Linked DNA regions of Homo sapiens: region 1 is linked to region 2. Evidence: promoter capture Hi-C in 16 types of primary human blood cells and fetal thymus (Javierre and others, 2016). All regions are on one chromosome and are shown on one strand. The core of a region is centred on a gene start or on the middle of the fragment in contact, and the rest is flanking DNA. Distances in the headings are between cores, read along the strand shown. Region 1 overlaps NOL10 (nucleolar protein 10). Region 2 holds the start of KLF11 (KLF transcription factor 11).

Region 1 (3,750 bases), core at 393-2,892, 620 kb before region 2:
TTTAGCAGGTTTTTAACTTTCTTTATTACTTTACAGTTCTGAAGTTTATAGGTTAAACTTAGAACAAGGACGATACCTGAATCCTCTACAAACTGATGCTGCGTGAGTAGTTTTAGTAATTCTGCTATATACATTTTGACCAGGAGGTGGAGCCAGATGCTCAGTTTGTTAACAAGTAACATAAACTATTGCAATTAAGCAAAACTCCCAGCAACTTAGTTAAAAAGTACTGTTGAATTTATTCTCAGACAAAAAATTCACTGAAAGATCTGGTGATTACTTTAAAAATTAAATGAAAGCTTTTTTTCATCTACTCAACTTTAAGTCAGTTAAAAATACTCAGTTTATTATTATTACTTGTAGTGTTCTTTAAATTTACATTCATGGTTTTGTTTTGTGATATTTTCTCCTGTGGAGAACTTTTGAATTAATTTGGAGTGCCATTTTTAAATTTTTATGCTCTGCTAGCGGACATTTAAGGTTTTTAAAGGTTTCCTTTTATCATACATTATAGTCTACACATATGTACTATGCAGCAAAAATTTTTAGGAATGAATCCATCATCATCATCATCACAACAAATAATAGTGATAAACACAGTAGGAAAGCACTTTGTGCCAGGTGTTATTCAGTCATTTTACCTTTATTATCTCATTTTAAACTTAGAACAGATTTTTGTGGTAAGTACCATTTTACAGATAGGGCAGCTGAGGCTCAGAGAGGTAAGTAGTTTGCCCAAGGCCACACAACTAGTCAAGGGTGGAAGCTGGATTACTTCTCATTGTGTATATGAAGAGCTTGCTGAATTTCTCGTATTGCTTTGAGAGGATTTTTAAAGGTTAGGTGAACATGTTGTGATAAGAACCAAATAAACTCTAATTTTTTTTTATTTCACATTGGGTAGAAATGCTTTTATTTTTATTAAAAAAAAAACTTGTAGTAGTAACTTCACAAATGCATTATATTGAGTGTCCTCTGTACCCCAGATACTGCTGAACGCTTTGCAGTCTTTTTCATTTAATCCCCATAACAACCCCCCGAGGTAGGTGAAATATCCATTTTACAGAGAAAGAAAATGAGACTTAGAATGATGTACCCAGGACAAGCCTGTCAAGGCTCAGGATTGTCATGGTGATAGCGTGTGTTCTTTTAAGAATGTTACCTGCCTTGGAAGAAAATACCTTGAAAAATAGAGTGACCCTTTCTTCTCATGGTAGTGGAATAGTATTTCAGAAGGAAGTCCCTCCTTGTTTGTCACCTAGCAGGTAGAGTGTCACCCTGGGGATCAGAAACTCCAGTGACTGAGCCAAGCACTTAACCCTTTCATACCTTGGTGTTTTCCATTTGCAGATTAGTAAGAGAGAATCTGTGTGTCTTCTTTCTACTCAGAATTTGGGTTGACTGTTTATTTATTTAATATTCCTTCCCCACTAAAGTAGGTGCTAACTAATTCATTCTTTCTTACTGCTTTCCTGTGTTAGGGAGAATAATGTTTGTGACATAAATTCAGTGCATGGCTTGTTTGCCACAGGAACCATAGAGGTAAGCATATGTTGACTTTATTTTTTAGAATATTTGTTTTATATTTGATTGGAATTTTTATTTAAAGACTGAGTTGCTTGATTCCTTAGAGCAGGATGATAATGAGGTGATAGCTTGAACATCCTGTAGAGTAACATTCAGTAAATATTGAGATGAATGTACACAACATTTTTCTTTTAAATGATAATATCTTTGAATCAATGTCCTTCACACTTACCAATAGTTTTTTGTAGATTTGCATTTTTCACTTAAAATAATGATAAATACTCATAGTTTTAAAAAATGCAAATATGTCAGAAGCATGTAATTTTAAAAAGTGCCCTTTTATACCTTCCAGTCACCAAATCCTACACCCCAGAGGTAACACTTGAATGGTTTGGAGTAGTATCCTTTCAAATTTTTTTTCCTAAGTGCTATATGCCAATATGCATATGTGTACATACATATTTTTTAAAGTGGTTTACCAAACTGAAATTGTATTCTACTGTAGTTCTCCATTTGCTTTTTTTTTTTTAGACATAACAGTATATAATATACATCTTATTGGTACTTATAATTACTTACGATGCTAAACTAATTTTAAAAAAATTTACAGGCCAGGCGCAGTGGCTCACTAATCCTAGCACTTTGGGAGGCCAAGGCAGGCAGATTACTTGAGATCAGGAGTTTGAGACCAGCCTGGCCAATATGGCGAAACACCGTCTCTACTAAAAATACAAAAATTAGCCGGGTGTGGTGGCACACACCTGTAATCCCAGCTATTTGGGAGGCTGAGGCAGGGGGGCGGAGGTTGCAGTGAATGAAGATTGGGCCACTGCACTCCCGCCTGGGTGACAGAGCGAGACTCCGTCTCAAAAAAAAAAATGATAGTTTACAGATAGCATTCTGTTGTTTGTACTATAATTTATTAAACCAGTTTCATATGGATGGAATTAATGGTTTTTTTTTTACTCAAATTATTTTTATGTTGAGAGATTAATGCAGCCACAAAAAAGAATGAAAGAATGTTCTTTGCAGCAACATGGATGCAGCTGGAGGCTGTTACCCTAAGTGAATTAAGACAGGAACAGAAAACCAAATACTGCGTGTTCTCACTTATGAGTGGGAGCTAACCGTTGGGTACTCATGACCATAAAGATGACAACACTAGACACTGGGGATTACTGGATGGGGAAGGGAGGGAGGGAGGCAAGGGTTGAAAACTAACTGTTGGCTACCATGCTCACTGCCTGGGTGACGGGATCAGTCACACTGCAAACCTCAGCATTATGCAATATACCAGTGTAACAAACCTGCACGTACCCCCAGAGTCTAACAAAGAAGTTGAAGTTGTATTTTAAAAAAAGATTAATATTTGAAATGGGACACTAAGTTTGATCTGACAGATATTATGTAAAACTATGTTGAATGTGTTTGAATACTGTTATGTCTAAATCAAGCTTTCTCTTGGTAGTCAGGTTACTTGAGATTACCAAGGGGAAGTTTTACAAGAGTTTCCCTGAGAAAATAGTTTTTAGGGTCCTTACAGGGCAGTCTAGGCTAGACACCAGGCAATGTGCTAAGAGAAGTTATGTATTAGAACGTGCTGCTCTTCCAGCAGCTGGTTTAAGACCAGCCTAGGACATGTTGAAGGGATAGGAGGTAGGGATGCTCAAAGACTGGGCTTCCGGAAATTCCTTGATTATTAGCAGCTTGCAGTTTCATAAGCATAGTCAGATCAGGCTTAACAAATTCATTTTACATTGATTTTCATATTACATCTCAGATTTTAGTTTCTTCTTTAGTTCTTAGTTATCATAATATTGTCAAACTAAATGTTTGCATTTTGTGCTTTTTGAAGTGCCTAAGAGGGGAGGTTTGGCAATGGAAATATTCAAATTTAGGTAATAGAAAATCAGTGTGCTTAAAAATACATTTTGTATTTACACTGGAAGTTATCTGCATACCCATTTTGTGTTTTTGGAATGCAACTTTTCTTTTTTATGTCCATAAAATTTATTAACTCATTTTGAGAAGACATAGAAGACTAGACCATTTGGAATTACCTGCTGTAGTTTAAAAAGGTTTCCCTTCGATTATTCATCTTTGCAACATACCTACTTGTAATAATATTAAAAGATTAATGAGGTCAGAACCTCCTAAGTATATTGAAGGGTTTGCTTTTAAGGTAGTTAATATATTAAACAATCTTAAAACATCTTTGTTTAT
Region 2 (4,183 bases), core at 1-2,500:
AGAAAACTAAGCCGGGGGCGAGAGGGTGATATTACTCTGAGAAGAGTAATACCCCTCCCTCCCAGGGAGGTTACAGTGGGCCGAGATCGCGCGCCCACTGCACTCCGGCCTGGGCGATAGAGCGAGACTCCCTATCAAAAAAAAAAAAAAGGAAAGGAAACTTTAAATGTACGAAGATACACGTTTCCTCTCTATCTGCCATGCACCAAAGCATCAAAGCTTTCCGTCTGCCGAGGTTCCCCGAGATCAAACAAGACGAGGCCACCTCAAATCCCCGGCCTCTGTCCCGCAGGCTGCGCCACTAAACCCCCTGTGATGTCACAGAACCGGGCGCCGAGGCCGACTCACCACACGGGCGGGAAGGGGCTCGCCCGGCCCACAGTGCCCGCACACCACGAGGCCCGCGCTCTGCCCACGTCCACGGCTACCTCCCCGAAGCCCCCAGGTCGCGACGCTTAGGGCCCCCAACGCTCGCGTGCCGCGTTCCCGCCTCCAAGCGTTGCCCCGCCTCCAAGGCAGTGCGGCGCTCCCGCCTCCCGTCGTTGCCCCGGCCCCTAGACCTTGCCCGCCCCCAGGCCCGAGCGGCACTACCGCTAGCCGCTCTTAACCCGCCCGACGGCCGCGTGCCCCGCCCCCAAAACCGTGCCGCGTTCCCGCCAGCAGCTCTTGCCCCGCCCCCAAGGCCGCGTGCCGCGTTCCCGCCAGCCGCTCCCCCGCCCAACGGCCGTCCGGCTCACAGGACCGGGGTGACGTCATGGCTGGAAATAGCCGCGGGGCCAGCGGGGCGGGGCCGCCCAGGAAGCGCAAGACAAAGCTGCGCGGGGAACACGCCCCCTCCTCGCCCCCGCCGACCCGGGCGCGCCCGTCGCGGCCGCCGCCCCGCCCGGCTCCGGAGCCCGCCCAGGCCCCTACCGGCGCGGCCGCAGCGAAGCCCTGCACGCCCCACCTCCCGCATTTACAGGCGCGCGAGTGCCGCACCACTTCCCCCGCCTCGCCCCTCGCTCAGACGAGTAGTCCCGCCGCGGCAGCCCCACCACTCACTGCGCGCGCGTCGTCTGGGCCTGCGAAGTCCGGCGTGTGCATCGTGCAGGCCGGCCGGGAGCAACAAAGCGGCCGCGGGGCGTGAGCTCGGGCGCAGCAGCGGCCGCACGTGGGCTGCGGGCGGCGGCGGCGGCGGCAACCCGGAGCTCCTGCGGCCGGCACGCGCCTCGCCCGCCCGCGCGGCTCTGCCCCGGCGCGGCCCTCGCGGCGCGGGAGGGGCGGGGCGGCCGCGGAGGGAGCGGCTGGCGGGGCGGGGCGCGGAGGCGAACCAAAATACACCGCGCCCCTGCCGGGGCGGGGCCGGCCACCACCAGCCAATTCGTGCCCGGCCGGCCAATGAGCGCCGCGGGGGGCCGCGTGATCGGAGCCTGGCCGCGGCGTGATCGGGCAGGGCGGGACGCGGCACGTGTTTTGGTCGGAGCGAGGGGCGGGGCCTGAGGCCCTGGAAAGTAAGGGAAAGGTCGCAGCGGCGCCAGGGGCAAGCGGGGCGGAGGGGGCGGCGGGGGCGGAGGGGGCGGCGGGGGCGGAGGGGGCGGCGGGGCGGCGGGGGCGGCGGGGCGGAGGGGGCGGGGCGGCGGCTGGGGAAATCCCAGGGCCGGGGCCGGACTCGGTGCGGGGAGAGGGGACCACGCTTATAGGAACCTCCTGCAGCCCCACCGGCTGAATCCATCGGTAGCGGAGACCCACCTAGAGGCCTCAACCTGGCTTTTGTTTGGTTGTTTTTAACTTCTGTCATTCTCCCTTCGTCTCTTAGGAATGCGTCCTTGACCGGAGAGGTCGGAAAGCTGGCCGGTTCTAGGTGACATTCCTGCATCCGGTCATTTTTGCAGACAGCGGGAGTCAGAGCTTATTGGCCTGAGTGTCCCGCTGACGCCCCTCCTCTGGCGTCTCTGGGCCTCTTCCGCTCTGTTACGGGGTCAGGGGAAGCCGAAACGGGCAGTCACCCAGAAGGCGCCCGCTGAAACCCGCCCATTCTTCCCAGGCCCCGAGAAAACGCCGCCCCCTCCGGGAAGTCCTCGAGCCTGCAGGAGACATCTAGCCCGCTGTCCAGGGCACCTTTTTTTTTCTCCCTATATTTCGGTTGCTCGCGTCTCTTGGTGTGGTTTGCCCACGTCTGCAGCGCCAGGTTCGTGGAGAGCAGGAACCATGCTGTTTATTTTCGTCGCCGCAGCCTTCAGCTCAGCGAGGAGCCACCCCTCCTCCGTCTGTTCACTGCGCGCGCCTTTGCTGAGCTGTGATGCGGGTTGGCGCTCAGTGCAAGGGGCAGAGGCCGCAGTGAGGAATCCTCCTTTTTTAAAAGCTCCATCCAGGGAGCGGGAGCAGAGAGAGAATCCCGGCACCCCGGGGCTTTGCTCTGAGCGAGAGAATTCTGGTCTTAGGGGAACGGGCTGGGCCCCACCACTCACATGAGCAGGACTCTGGTCCCCACTTGTTCCTTCGGGGCCCACTCGGGTTGGGCAGAGGGGTTGACCAGGCTGAGGAGAGGGTGTTTGCTGAAATAGTAAGAGGGTTTAAGACGAAAGAACCGTGATAAACTGCTCGCATGAAGACCCCGGAGGCTCTGAGAGGGGCGCAGGGTGTTCTGTGTGTAAAAAGTTAAGTCTTAAGATACACACTGGAATATTCTCTTTTGCCTGGACTCCTGCATTCGCCTTATAACTGGTCTCCCTGCGTCCACTCCAGCTCCCAGAGCCTCTTCCCACTCAGCACCCCCAGGGGTCTTTAACCCTTTCAGTGGCTCCCACTGTACTCAGCGTAACGCTTCTGCTCCCCACTGTGGCTTGTGAGCTCCTGCAGGGACCCAGCCCCATGCCTCTCCCCACGCCCCGGAGGGACAGCCTGGGCCTCCTCTTGGGCGCCTGTCCCACCAGCCCCTCTGCCGTCTCCAGGTCCTCGCACTTGCTGTTCCCTAGAATGCTTTTCCCCCACATGCCCCCTTTACTCTCACCCGCAGTCCACCTGGAGAGGCCCCCTCTAGCGGACACACCCTCGGGGCCGACCTCCAGTCCCCTTCTGGCGGGCTTTCTTGTTTTCTTCCTCCACAACACTTTTCTTGAACTGCCCCTTTTCCATTACTTCAGTTATTTATCATCTGTCTCCCCACCAGAAGGACTCTCCCAAGGCCAGGGAGCCTGGCTGTTTAATAAGTCCACGTAGGTGAACGAGCGAATCGAAGGTATCCACCAGCCTCCCTGCTTGAACATCCCGTGAGCACCTCTAATTGTGTCCTTAAAAAAACTGAACTCAGGGCCGGGCGCGGTGGCTCACGCCTGTAATCCCAGCACTTTGGGAGGCCGAGGCGGGCGGATCACCTGAGGTCAGGAGTTGAAGACCAGCCCGGCCAACATGATGAAACCCCGTCTCTTCTAAAAATACAAAAATTAGCCTGGCACGGTGGCAGGCGCCTGTAATCCCAGCTACTCAGGAGACTAAGGCAGGAGAATCGCTTGAACCCAGGAGGCAGAGATTGCAGTGAGCCGAGATCGCACCACTGCACTCCAGCCTGGGCGTCAGAGACTCAGTCTCAAAAAAACAAACAAAAAACTGAACTCGGATTCCAGCCAAATCTGGATTTCTCACCTCCGTGAAGGGTACAACTGGAGACCCTGTTCCTTGATCTAGAAACCTGAGCGTCACCTTTACCTCCTCCCTTTCGCACAGTTGCTGTCTTCCGCCAATTACATGCCCTTCTTCCTTCTCAGTTCCTCTCAAACTCTTATGTCACCCACGCCAGCCCTTGTCCTGGCCACCACCTGCTCACCTGAATTGTTGCCACTGCCTCCCAACAGGTCTCCCTCCCTCCAGCCAGACGCCCTACAATCTGCCCTCACCTCACTGCCAGAATGATCTTCTGGAAGCAGAGGTGGAGCTGAACCTGTATTCAAGCCGTCAGTTGGAATCCAAACAGTTATAGGACTGACTTCAGGCTCCATGGCCAGGAACCCATGAGTCTTTGTAGCCAGGCTCCAGCCAGCACTTCCTGCATCATTTCTGACCAGTTTCCCAAATTGCTTTCCCTGCTGCCTTCCTGCCCCCACTGACCCAATACAGAACCCTGTACTCTCAAGGTCACGCCACTCTCTTCTGTTTCTAGACAGCATTCCTTCTGCGTGGAACATGCCAACCCTCGTCTGCTTTGACT

The links. The method cuts DNA at HindIII sites, captures the fragments that hold promoters and counts their contacts. A CHiCAGO score of 5 or more calls a contact.
Region 1: a fragment that was not itself captured here is called in contact with the fragment with the promoter of KLF11 in region 2 in 1 of 17 cell types (total B cells); the score reaches 6.2 in total B cells.

What each region holds. Positions count from the first base shown.
Region 1 is chr2:10,665,010-10,668,759 of GRCh38, reverse strand. NOL10 (nucleolar protein 10) reads left to right here. Exons shown (of 21, transcript NM_024894.4): 7 at 37-102; 8 at 1,482-1,542. Among named protein-coding and RNA genes, the nearest start is that of NOL10, 23 kb to the left of the region's middle. The HindIII fragment of the contact is 2,682 bases long and covers 302-2,983 here.
Region 2 is chr2:10,040,617-10,044,799 of GRCh38, reverse strand. KLF11 (KLF transcription factor 11) reads right to left here and starts at 1,250. Exons shown (of 4, transcript NM_003597.5): 1 at 1,042-1,250. The coding sequence starts at 1,083. KLF11-DT (KLF11 divergent transcript) reads left to right here and starts at 1,399. Exons shown (of 3, transcript NR_135558.1): 1 at 1,399-1,490; 2 at 1,796-2,167; 3 at 3,149-3,247. RefSeq lists silencers at 557-626, 667-716, 837-886, 1,177-1,406 and a promoter at 1,093-1,992. The HindIII fragment of the contact is 6,616 bases long and covers 222-4,183 here.